2 separate regions of the Homo sapiens genome follow, and region 1 is linked to region 2. The links are contacts of gene promoters, found by promoter capture Hi-C in human tissues and cell types (Jung and others, 2019). All regions are on one chromosome and are shown on one strand. The core of a region is centred on a gene start or on the middle of the fragment in contact, and the rest is flanking DNA. Distances in the headings are between cores, read along the strand shown.

Evidence for each region. Contacts are between HindIII fragments. The study calls those that stand out against the background at their distance.
Region 1: a fragment that was not itself captured here is called in contact with the fragment with the promoter of LPAR1 in region 2 in 3 of the 25 tissues and cell types used here (dorsolateral prefrontal cortex, hippocampus and mesenchymal stem cells).

Annotation. Positions count from the first base shown.
Region 1 is chr9:110,774,894-110,779,845 of GRCh38, reverse strand. It overlaps MUSK (muscle associated receptor tyrosine kinase), which reads right to left. Exons shown (of 15, transcript NM_005592.4): 10 at 3,883-4,058; 11 at 3,191-3,214. All of the region lies in intron 2 of LOC107987115 (a long non-coding RNA gene), which reads left to right. Among named protein-coding and RNA genes, the nearest start is that of MUSK, 110 kb to the right of the region's middle. The HindIII fragment of the contact is 3,206 bases long and covers 664-3,869 here.
Region 2 is chr9:111,034,922-111,040,178 of GRCh38, reverse strand. LPAR1 (lysophosphatidic acid receptor 1) reads left to right here and starts at 1,709. Exons shown (of 6, transcript NM_001351411.2): 1 at 1,709-2,012; 2 at 3,978-4,057. It overlaps LOC124902248 (a long non-coding RNA gene), which reads right to left and starts at 3,251. Exons shown (of 2, transcript XR_007061732.1): 1 at 2,390-3,251; 2 at 1-724. RefSeq lists a silencer at 1,940-2,279. The HindIII fragment of the contact is 11,259 bases long and covers 1-5,257 here.

The DNA.
Region 1 (4,952 bases), core at 1,017-3,516, 260 kb after region 2:
GTAACTAAACATGTAAAGTACAAATTATTATAAATGCTAGAAGAATGTAATAAAAATAATTATGAATTGGATTGGTCTAGTAGAAAATTTATTAGAAAATCAAGGAAATCAGTAAACCCATATGTGTATAGAAGGGCTATTAATGTCATGAAATTATTAGACAGCTAGCATGAGTTTAATCTATACTCATAAAAGAACAAGGCCTTATCACAGAAAATATGGTTGCATTGCAATTCTGATCAGATCATGTTCTGTGCTTTGTGTTCAGTTCTGGATATTCTCAAGCTTGTGGCAGCCAGTAAAAAGTAAACATGGAGGTGAGGATTTTGGAAGTCAGTTGCAAAAGAAAAAGTTAAAAATTGGAGATATTTAATGTGAAGAAGAGAAGACTACAGAGAGATTGAGTGCCTGTCTCCAAATATTTTAAGGACTATCATACAGATTATAAATAAATCAAAGAAATAGAGTGAAGATCAGTTGTTGACAGTTCTAGAGAACCAGAATTTAGTTCTACATAGCTAAATTGTTGAAATAATTAATGTATTCTACAAAGGAATTGAGAAATAAATTCAGGAGGGAAAATGGAATGTTTCTGTCAGAGATGCTCTAGAAAAGATTCTTTCATTGTGGGAGACTTTAGATTAAATAACTGTTAAAGTTACTTTAAACTCCAATTTTCTAAGAACTTGTAACTTTAATATTACCACAAAAATTACCCAAACCACATTTCAAATTATGAAATAATTCATGAGTTTTACACAGACACACACACACACACACACACACAGAGACACTGACGCTTCATGATTTCATTCGTGGGCAAAATAGTAGCTGATCATTATGGAAAAATGGTCTGGGACACAAAGCATGTATTCATTTAAATGTTAACAAAAAGTCAAATCATCAAGTGGCCTGGGTGATTTAAAATTGTGAACAATAAAATTTTTATCAATTAGAGCTTCTTAAGAATAATCAATTATAACAAATGTGAAAAGGTAGTGGAATTTATTCAAGAATGAATCAGTTAAACAATCAGTTAAGCTTTATTACACATGAGGTCTTGGAATTTTTTAAGAAACATTAGTAATAACAGAAATGCATCAGGTATAACATTCTGGCTCTGAAGACAGAGCCAGAATCAGATAGATTTCAGTTCAAATTCTGGCTTATCACCTTACTAGATGGGTAAAATTGGACACATTGCTTAATCTCTCTTTCTCATGTTGGGTTGTAAGTAAAATGGAGGACGTTCATAGTACTTAATTTTGTAGAACTATTGGGAGTATTAAGAGAGATAATGTATGTATCACACTAGTCAGTTTGGATTTGGGTACATTCATTGGGTCCTTTATTCTCCATGTATATGTATAGAAAGAGCAAAGATGGAAGGAAAAAGAGAATTCAAGAGAAAAGTAATTATTTCAATGATTAAGACAAATTAACCTTTTCTCCACAGAAGCTCTGAAATAGAAGACAGATTCACTGCTGAGTGTTTCTGTAATAAAGTATGTGAAGTCTCACGGAAGAGAGGAATAGTGTAATCCTTGCTTACAAATAATGTAAATAGCACAAAGGCATTGCCTGCTCAAAAAGATGTTTCACTTCAGCCAAAGAAATTATAAAAAAGAAAAACTACTGAAATTCTAGTCCCTATGCTCAAGGAAGAAGAAAATAATGCAAAGATAAACAAATGATTAACAGCTCTTTTGTGACCCCTCCAAATGAGCTGGTGATATTCTTTAGAGTTTACTCAGAAATCAAGACACTCTTTGGAAAATACTTAAGGTCTTTACACACCCCTATAAAATATGGGACACTGCCTAATAAGGATGTTTTCTTTGCTCCACTATTGACCTGCTAAAGCCAACTCTTTTAATAATAATTGCCTTAACTCAAGGAGCATACTTTCAGATATTCCCTGCCCTACTTTCAGTTTAAATGGTTAGTTCATGACATTAGGAGCTCATTTTCTTACATGTATCGAAGATTTCATAAAGCTGTTTTTTAAAGACTAGAAAATTTATTATTGTAGCTAGTTTGTGCTGCTCAAAATTCCTTTATAATTAGTGTGAAAGGCAGAAATGTGGATGCTTTTTTGTGTATTGTTCCTGTCTAATTTAAGATGAATGGTCTGGTCCTTCCACACAGCAAACCCTCAATGAATGTTTGAATGGATGAGTGAGCAATCGATGGATAACAAAGAGCACAGTAATCAATTCAAAGTCCAATCAAAGTAAACTTTGGCTGCTCATATAACAAAGAATTGAAATTTTTTTTTATTCCTTCGATTTGGGAATAACAATTTGACAGGCTACCAGAATAATAGATTTTTAAGGTTTCCATAACTCTTCTTGTTTAATACCTCTGAGTAATTCAACTAGGACCAGTAGCATTCTTGCTTTTAATACTTTTAAGTGTTGGTCCTTTAAGCAAGCTGGTAAAATCAAGTCCTGGCACCTAGTCAAATGCAGAGGAGATTAGGGCTGGAATATGTATTACAGGAAGTAAGTGTGATTTAAGCCTTAGAACGCTGAGACCAGAGGAAGTTAGTTGACATGAAAAGCTTTTCTAATTTCATCCTGAGGATTTCTGCATTCTGACAGGTTAAAGCACTATCTGATACAAGTTATTTTGTACGACATCCCTTTTCAAGCAACCTTCTTGAATTCTTTCCCAGAGATTTTTGTGATGACCTTTTTAAAGCCATTTGATTTGATCCTATAAACTTTATACTGGAAATCAGCTGTCTTAAAAAAATACCTAACTTCCAAAAGAGGGATCTATTGTCACAAATGAAGATCATGAATTGGCTCAATGAAGAAATAAATGTTGGGTTTCATCTATACATAATTAGATTATACTGAATCAAGAATATAAAATCAAAAGGTGACATTTTAAATTTGGCTTACTTATAGCCATATAAGAAATAAAACAGACTAAAAACCTTGAGGTGGGAGATAGCATTTGTATGACTCACTAAATATGGTACTCTCTACGGTCTAATTAAAAGTTATAAACTGAGACCTTCCATGATTTTCCCTCATGTTATACCCTGGATGAGTATGGTGAGAAGACTTTGAGAGCGGCTGTACATTCTGTTCTGGGCATCAGGAAATATAAGTGTAAACACACATGCATGAATCCAATTACATACACATAAGGTTTCAAGGGCACAAACACAATTACTTACTTTTTAGGTTTTCTTTGTTATAATCTGAAGGGGAAAGGATAAAAATTTGTTTTAAGTGAGCATCCAGATATCTCACATATTCTGTGAGAGAGTGAGTGCTAAGAAATGCAAGTTCTCTCTCAGCTTTTTAATATACAACTGGAAAACATTCTTTGCATTCGAATGTGAAAGAATTGGGTCTTTGAAATTAAACCAGCTGTTAGGGATAACAACATAGTTCCTTACAAACAAAGTTCATTAAAGCAACATGAAGCAATTCAATTTTGTTTTGTGAGATCAGCATTTTCAAACATGTGTCTTATTTTAGCATGCTTTCTTGGCTAAGAAAAAGGACTTTATTCCTTTATTCCACTCTGCTGACAAAATATAAGATGTTTCTTAGCCATTTTTCTACACACTCCAGAAAATGTTACAAGCTCTCATAAGATTCCCTATGAAAGAATCTAAAATGTCAAGCAGTAATTAAAAGTGCTGTTTCATTTATTTTAGAGCAAATGAAATAAATCTTTACGCTAATCTGTACAATTAGGATAGCATTAGGATTCCGCTAGTAGGTATCTAAGGAAGGCAGAACTCAAAAAAAAAAAATTAGAAATGCCTAGAAATATTAGAAGCTTTAAGTTCACACCTTAGTTTCTTCAAAATAGTAAATTTCTCTTAACCTCCAAAGTCTTGGGAGAACTCTGTGTTACCTAGATGTGGCAGTCTGGCACAGGCCGTGGGGTCCCAATGCATGCTGGGAAGCTTGCTGCATTCTGGCACGGACAGCAAATGCATCTCGGATCTGTAGAGTCCTCTGTGGGTCTTCTCTTCCATTACCAGCCATTCTTTTGCGCAGAAGAGCTCCTTTACTGCCAAGCAGTACTCTCTAAAATAGTATATGGAGAACAAAACTTGATGAATCATTACATGTTAAAGCAAATTTGTGGCAGAGCCTAAATTCTGTGTTTTCAAGACATCATCATGGTAAATTGTTCTTGAAAAAAGCGCGTTTATGAAAGAAACTTTTTACTGTAAATAATATGAGACCTCATGAAATCTAGTGTACTGTCCCGTGAGATGAAATGCTATCTCGTTTTGTTGTGAAACACAATTAATGCTAGTCTAAGGGAAAAAAACGTCAAATTTAAAACGTATTAGATTGGGAATCTCTGATATGTCTTCTCCCAACTTCATATTCAAATAACAACACAGGTAGAGGAAAAAGGTATACAGAGTTTAAAAAACACACCTACTGAAAGTCAGGATCATTGTCAACCAGTTTCCAGCTTGGAAGATTTTTCTATGATCTTGGGGCTAATGGGTAGGGCTCGAGGAACACAGTCTGGGCCTCTGTGTGCTTTGTCCTCTGAAACAGAACACCACCACCTCCCTGGCAGCTTATAGGAGGGCATCTGGGTCCTTACTCAGCCCTTACTTTGAGGCACGGAATCCTGTCCCATTGCTCTGCGTGCTTCCATCTGAGAAAGCCAAAGTATTATCTGTTTGAATATGAAGCTGTTATGTTCATCTACATGTTGTATTATGAGTGAAGGGGCTGAAGAAACACTAATTGGACTACTTGGAATTTTGCAGATTAGTATTTGTTTAAGCCTGATAGAAAATAGGACAAACTGCATAGGAAAAACCTGGTTAATTTCAAATTAAGGTATTTGGGGTTAATAATAAGAGGAAATTAAAGATAATTAAATAAATTAAACATAATAATAGCAGATGTCCTTTATTCAGTATCTGAAGGATTCAGAGAGGAGGAAATTGTAAG
Region 2 (5,257 bases), core at 460-2,959:
CTTATAGTTTGGTATCAACCCCTATGATTATTTGTGAGATAAGGGAGTGGTTTGTATTCATGGGTATACATATCTATACACATTTCTGCATGCCGTACACAAACATAAGTAGCATTGTGCATGAACATATTAGCACTGTGCATGTACTAAAATTTCAATTTTTTCACATAGTAGGTTATAAAATAAATCATATATTCGTAGGAAAGGTATAGAAAGCAAAGTTATTTAAAGTGGATTTTTAAAAAAGATTTGAATGATTTTTTTTAAAAAAAAGATTAGAACCATTGTTTTTAAAAGGAAACAGCTTTAGATAGTAAATTATTTACAGCCAGGACTCAGCCCTGAGCATCCTGTGAAAACCACACGAGCTTGGTCAAGGTTCTAAGCAGTCACCGGTGGGAGATGGTCATGGTCCCGTCACAGCATAACTCACTTGAGGCTTGAAAAGTTTCCGTCCAGCTACGGTTTGCAGTGACCTTTCTCTTCTGCAAAGCCCACGGTTACCTGGTGGCCACCACCAACATAGCCCCGCCTCGCTGTCCTGCGTTTCTCTCAATCAGATCAGTCCTGCCGAGTCCCCATGCCTTACTGCTGGTGTGCTGTGTCCTCTGTGCCATTTCAAGGCGAGGGCTCATGAAACTTTTACTCACACGCTGCTATTTTTGATATGCGGTGGCCTTAGCTGTGGAGCGAGAGGCCGATAATTGTGATCACTCCGGAAATCCTGGGAAGCCAGAAGTGGGAGATGGGTGTTGTGAGGTGGCGTGGCTAGGGAGACCCCATCGAGTGGGTGTGTTATAAGACCTGGGCGAATCCCTGTGGCTGCCACTCTCCTGAGAATGTTCCCTAGGCCTTAGTCCCGCGCCGCTCCCACCCACACCTCCAGGTGTGCAGTCCCCGCCCTTAATTACTCTCACTAAAATTGATAGTTTACACTTGCAAAGCTACACTGGGAAAGCGGAAGAGAAATTTATAATCGTGGATATGGAGAACTAGGGGAGCAGACACACTTGCTTTCGTTTACAGATCCAGTGAAGTGAAAAATCAGAACTAGAAACGTATGCACCTTCCTAGCAGCAAAGCCGCTTCTGCGTTCTTCGCAGCCTCCAGTGCAGGGCGGCGCTGGGAGAAACTTTGCGCCTTCTGGAAAGTTTAGAAAGTGAGCCACGAAAGAGAGGCCACATTTCCGGGGTTTTGCGGGCCCCGCGATGTTTTCCAGAGCTTTTCGAGTGGGAAGAGGAGAGCGACAACGTGAAAATGCCCCGTGCCGGGGCGTCCACCGGAGTCCTGCCAGCTGTCCGGCGCTGGGGTAAGCGCAGGAGGGGCGGGGGTGGGACCCGAGCTGGCGGCCACGGGTCTCCCGCTGCGGGTGTGTCGACTCGGGGGCGGGGCGGGGGAGGCTGCTGAGATAATGAATGGGAGGCTAAGGCCACCCCCCAGCCCCGGCCCTGCCACCACCGTGGGCTGTCGAGCCAATGAATGGAGGAGGGGGCGCAGAGGTCAGGGGCGCTGGGGGCGCCACACCAGGTAAGGGGTCCAGCTTGGGAGCGGGGAGGGCGGACTCTGGGGGTTCGGGTGTTGCTGACTTGTGCTACGTGGAACAAGCAGAAAAGAAGGAAGGCGGAGGAAGAGAGGAGGCTGGCGTCGGCGCTGCTCCTCTGGCCCTCCCTCTGCGCCCCCTCCTCCTGCCAGCGCGCCAAAGCCGGGCAGTAGGGGCCGACTGGCGGCTGACGCTCCCTGAGTGGCGACTCCGTCTCCAGCCCCGCTGCGGAGCGCGGGCCGGATCTGGGGCGGCCAGGGCCCGGAGCCGCGGAGCCCTCCCCGCCGCCCGGCCGAGCACGGGACCCCGGCGGGGTGGGCGCAGGGGGCGGCCCCGCTCTGGGCGACTGCCGAGGGGCGGGCGGAGGGCCGGGCTCGGCTGGCGGTGGGGCGGGGGCCGCCGGGACTGGGCGCGCGGCCTGAAGCCAGCCCGGGGGCGGCAGGAGAGGGACGCGCGGCGGCAGCGAGCGCAGGTAAGGGGGCCGGCGCGGCGTGTGGGGACGGCGCCCCCTGGGCGCGAAGCCAGAGGCCGCGGCGACTGCTCGGCCCGCCACACGGCGCGCTGGGCTCACACTGTCCCGCCGCGGACGGGCTTTGTGGTTGGGGGCGCGCGTGCGAGTGCCAGTGAGAGTGTGGGTGCGCGCTGTGGGCCGCGGCGCGGGTGGGTGGCCGTGCGTTCTTGCGAGCCGGCCTGCAGGAGGCGAGGCTCCCCTGGCCTCCCGCACCCAGCGGCGGACCGAGCCCCTGGAGGGAAGTTGCCGCAGCCGCCCGGGCCGCCGGCCCTCCTGTCCCGCGCCAGGTCAGTGCGCCCCGGGGCCCGCCCAGTGACACGTAGGTGGCCTCCGGTTACCTGGGTCGGGGTGGGTGCGCGGGAGGGCTTGCGAGGGGCCCTCGAAATTCTCCCAAAACCTCGTCCCGCTGGACTTGCACCTCCGAGGGGTCCCTGCGCCCCTGGGGCTCCGCACCTCTCGCTTCCCACTGACGACTCGGTTGTCCCCCACCACCGGGCTGAGGACTTTTAACTAAGTTTCTGTCCAGCCGCCTAACAAACGTGCTTAACAAGTAACAGGAGGTTGTAAGGCAAGGGAGGGACCTGGCTTTGAAAGTTGATGGTTTTGAAATCGACGGCTCCTTTGACTTGCGTAGGACTCCTTTGTGGTGAATGGATTTAAAGTTTATTCTTGTTTTTCTTTGCTGCCATTTGGTCTTTGCAATGTTAAGAGTGAAGGCATTCAGGACTTGCTGCTGCCTGCTGTCTGGGGCCTGAGGTTGTGGCTCTCCGCTTCTGCTCTCCTCTCTTCATTTTTGTTGAAATCCGTGGATTTTTTCATAAATGTGGGTGCTGGCTTGTTTCACTATGGACGCGTCGTTTCCTATGGGGTTAGATAGATATTGGTAAACATAAATATTGAAAATGTGATGATCACATATTGATGATCACAGCGAAATCCTCTATTCCTTCAGGCTCTAACAGTTTGTTTTTCACGTATTTGCATAAGTGTGTTTGCTCAGCTAAGCATAATTGGTAAGCCAGAGGTCTGTGATTCAGAGTCTGCAGTTCTGGTTAAGGGGAGACTGTACACTTGGAAAATGCGAAGTTTTTTAAGAAGTTATTCCCTTGCCGGATAGAAGAGTGGGTCCCAAGGAAAAAGGGTGTATTTTAGAGGTATGGTTATTTGAACCAAACTAAACATCATTAAAATACACAGGGAGGTAGAATGTCACCTAGTTCTTTCTGCCCTTGATTTCCATATCCCAGTAGGAGCGAGTATAATTGCCCCAAATGCAAAATTATGAATAATAATCAGCATTGTAAGTATATTAAGGTTGCATTTTTTTCTTGATACTTGTCTGATTTGAGGATAAAAACACCAAGTGGCAAGAGAAGGAGGTAGCTTGAGGCAGGAAGGCACGGGCGAGGAGCGAGGAGGGAAGGCTGGGTTGTCATCATCCGAGCCCGCAAGGTACACCACGTCCCCTAGCGGCGCGACCTCAGCCAGTCGGGTCAGCTCAGATCCTGGTCTCCGTCTCCCCATCCGGAAAATGGAAGGGGTTGGTGATCGTTGCTGTTCCTTCCAGCTTCCCAAATAGCGAGAAACCGGTGGGAGGTTATCTTATTGTGTTAGAGCAGTAGGAAAAGGTAGGAGGGGGAAGTGAGAGGTCCAGAGGGCCAGGAAGATGGAAGAAAACAAGCAACAGAGGATGCTTGGAGGAGAAAAATTCTTGAGCTGGGAGCTCATTTCCTCTTTTTTTTTTTTTTTTCCTTTCCTCAAGGGACTCAATAATACTTCCCCCACCTCAGATCAATCTCTTGTTACCTTTATTATTTAAAGCTTGTGAGTTTGCTTAGCTAATGCACTAGGGTGAGGTCAAGGTGATCCTTGCAGTCTGACTTCTACTAGGCATCACTTGACTCATTTGCATCATTGTCTCTCAAGGGAACAGCTCCTGCCCAGGTCTGTGGGCACTCAGCATGGATTTCAGTCTCCCTGTGAGTGATGGGAAAGAACTAACAGAGGTAAGAATGTAAGTGGCAGCCCTTTCGAAACTTCTATTTTTGTTCAAACCTAATATTTTCCAAAAAGTGATTTGATTTTTTTGTTGTTTCAAATTATACCGTAGGCTGCAAGGTTTTACTGAATCTATTCCATTAGTGACCTACTGGAACGTTCAAAGAATAAAAATCTCACTTGCTCAGTGTTTTTGATACACAGTGACATTCAGTCTGAAGTAAGTGATATTTAGGGCCAAGAATCATTTCAAATGCTTAGTATGGAAAGTTGCAATCTGGGCAGAATACACTGTATCATTTTCACTGGGAAGCTCCAAGTATTCAGCAGATAACAGAACTTTCAGAATTTAGTTTGAGGTCAAGATTTTAATGTCTGTGTTTGATGTGTGGCCTGTCTTCCTTTTCTTTGATGTTTTGGTATCAATATGCCTACACCCTTGAGGAACATTATTTATTGTAAAAGCTGAACTGTGATGTAATAAAAACTTAAACATAAGCTCTTGGTTTAAAGTCCAATAGTCTTCTCTGGCCTTAAGTCAGCATCATACTACTGTTTGGTTTCTTATTTTTACATATCATGTTACCCTCTTATTTAAATATCCCGGGCCAGGTGTGGTGGCTTATGCCTGTAATCTCAACACTTTGGGAGGCTGAGGCAGGACGATCGCTTGAAGCCAGGAGTTTGAGACCAACCTGGGCAACATAGTGAGACTCTGTCTCTATAAAAAAAATAGAAACATTAGCTGGGTATGGTGGCATGTGCGTGTAGTCTCAGCTACTTGGGAGGCGGAGGAGGGAGGATGGCTTCAGCCCAGGATTCAAGGCTGCAGTGAGCTGTGATTGTGCCATTGCACTACAGCCTGGGTGACAGAGAGACTCTGTCTCTTAAAAAAAAAAATCTTAGGGAAAACTATTATGGATGTCTTAGAAAGTTGAGAGAAAAGGAGGTAATTCTATTTCAGCAAACAATTATTGAATTCCTTCCATGTGGTAGATGCAAGGATGGTGAAAAGGAAGCTCCAGAAAGAACTGCAACACAGGGGGGAAAGATGCAGTGAGCCTCACGGTTCATACCGAATATGTATATGCAGTGTTGTGTAACTGGGTGGTAGCTGTAGAGTCCAAGAACTTTGGCATGCCAGGGAATGGAGAATTACGTTTTGATTCAGGGGACGAATTTATAAATGTGGCTTGAAGAATAACATA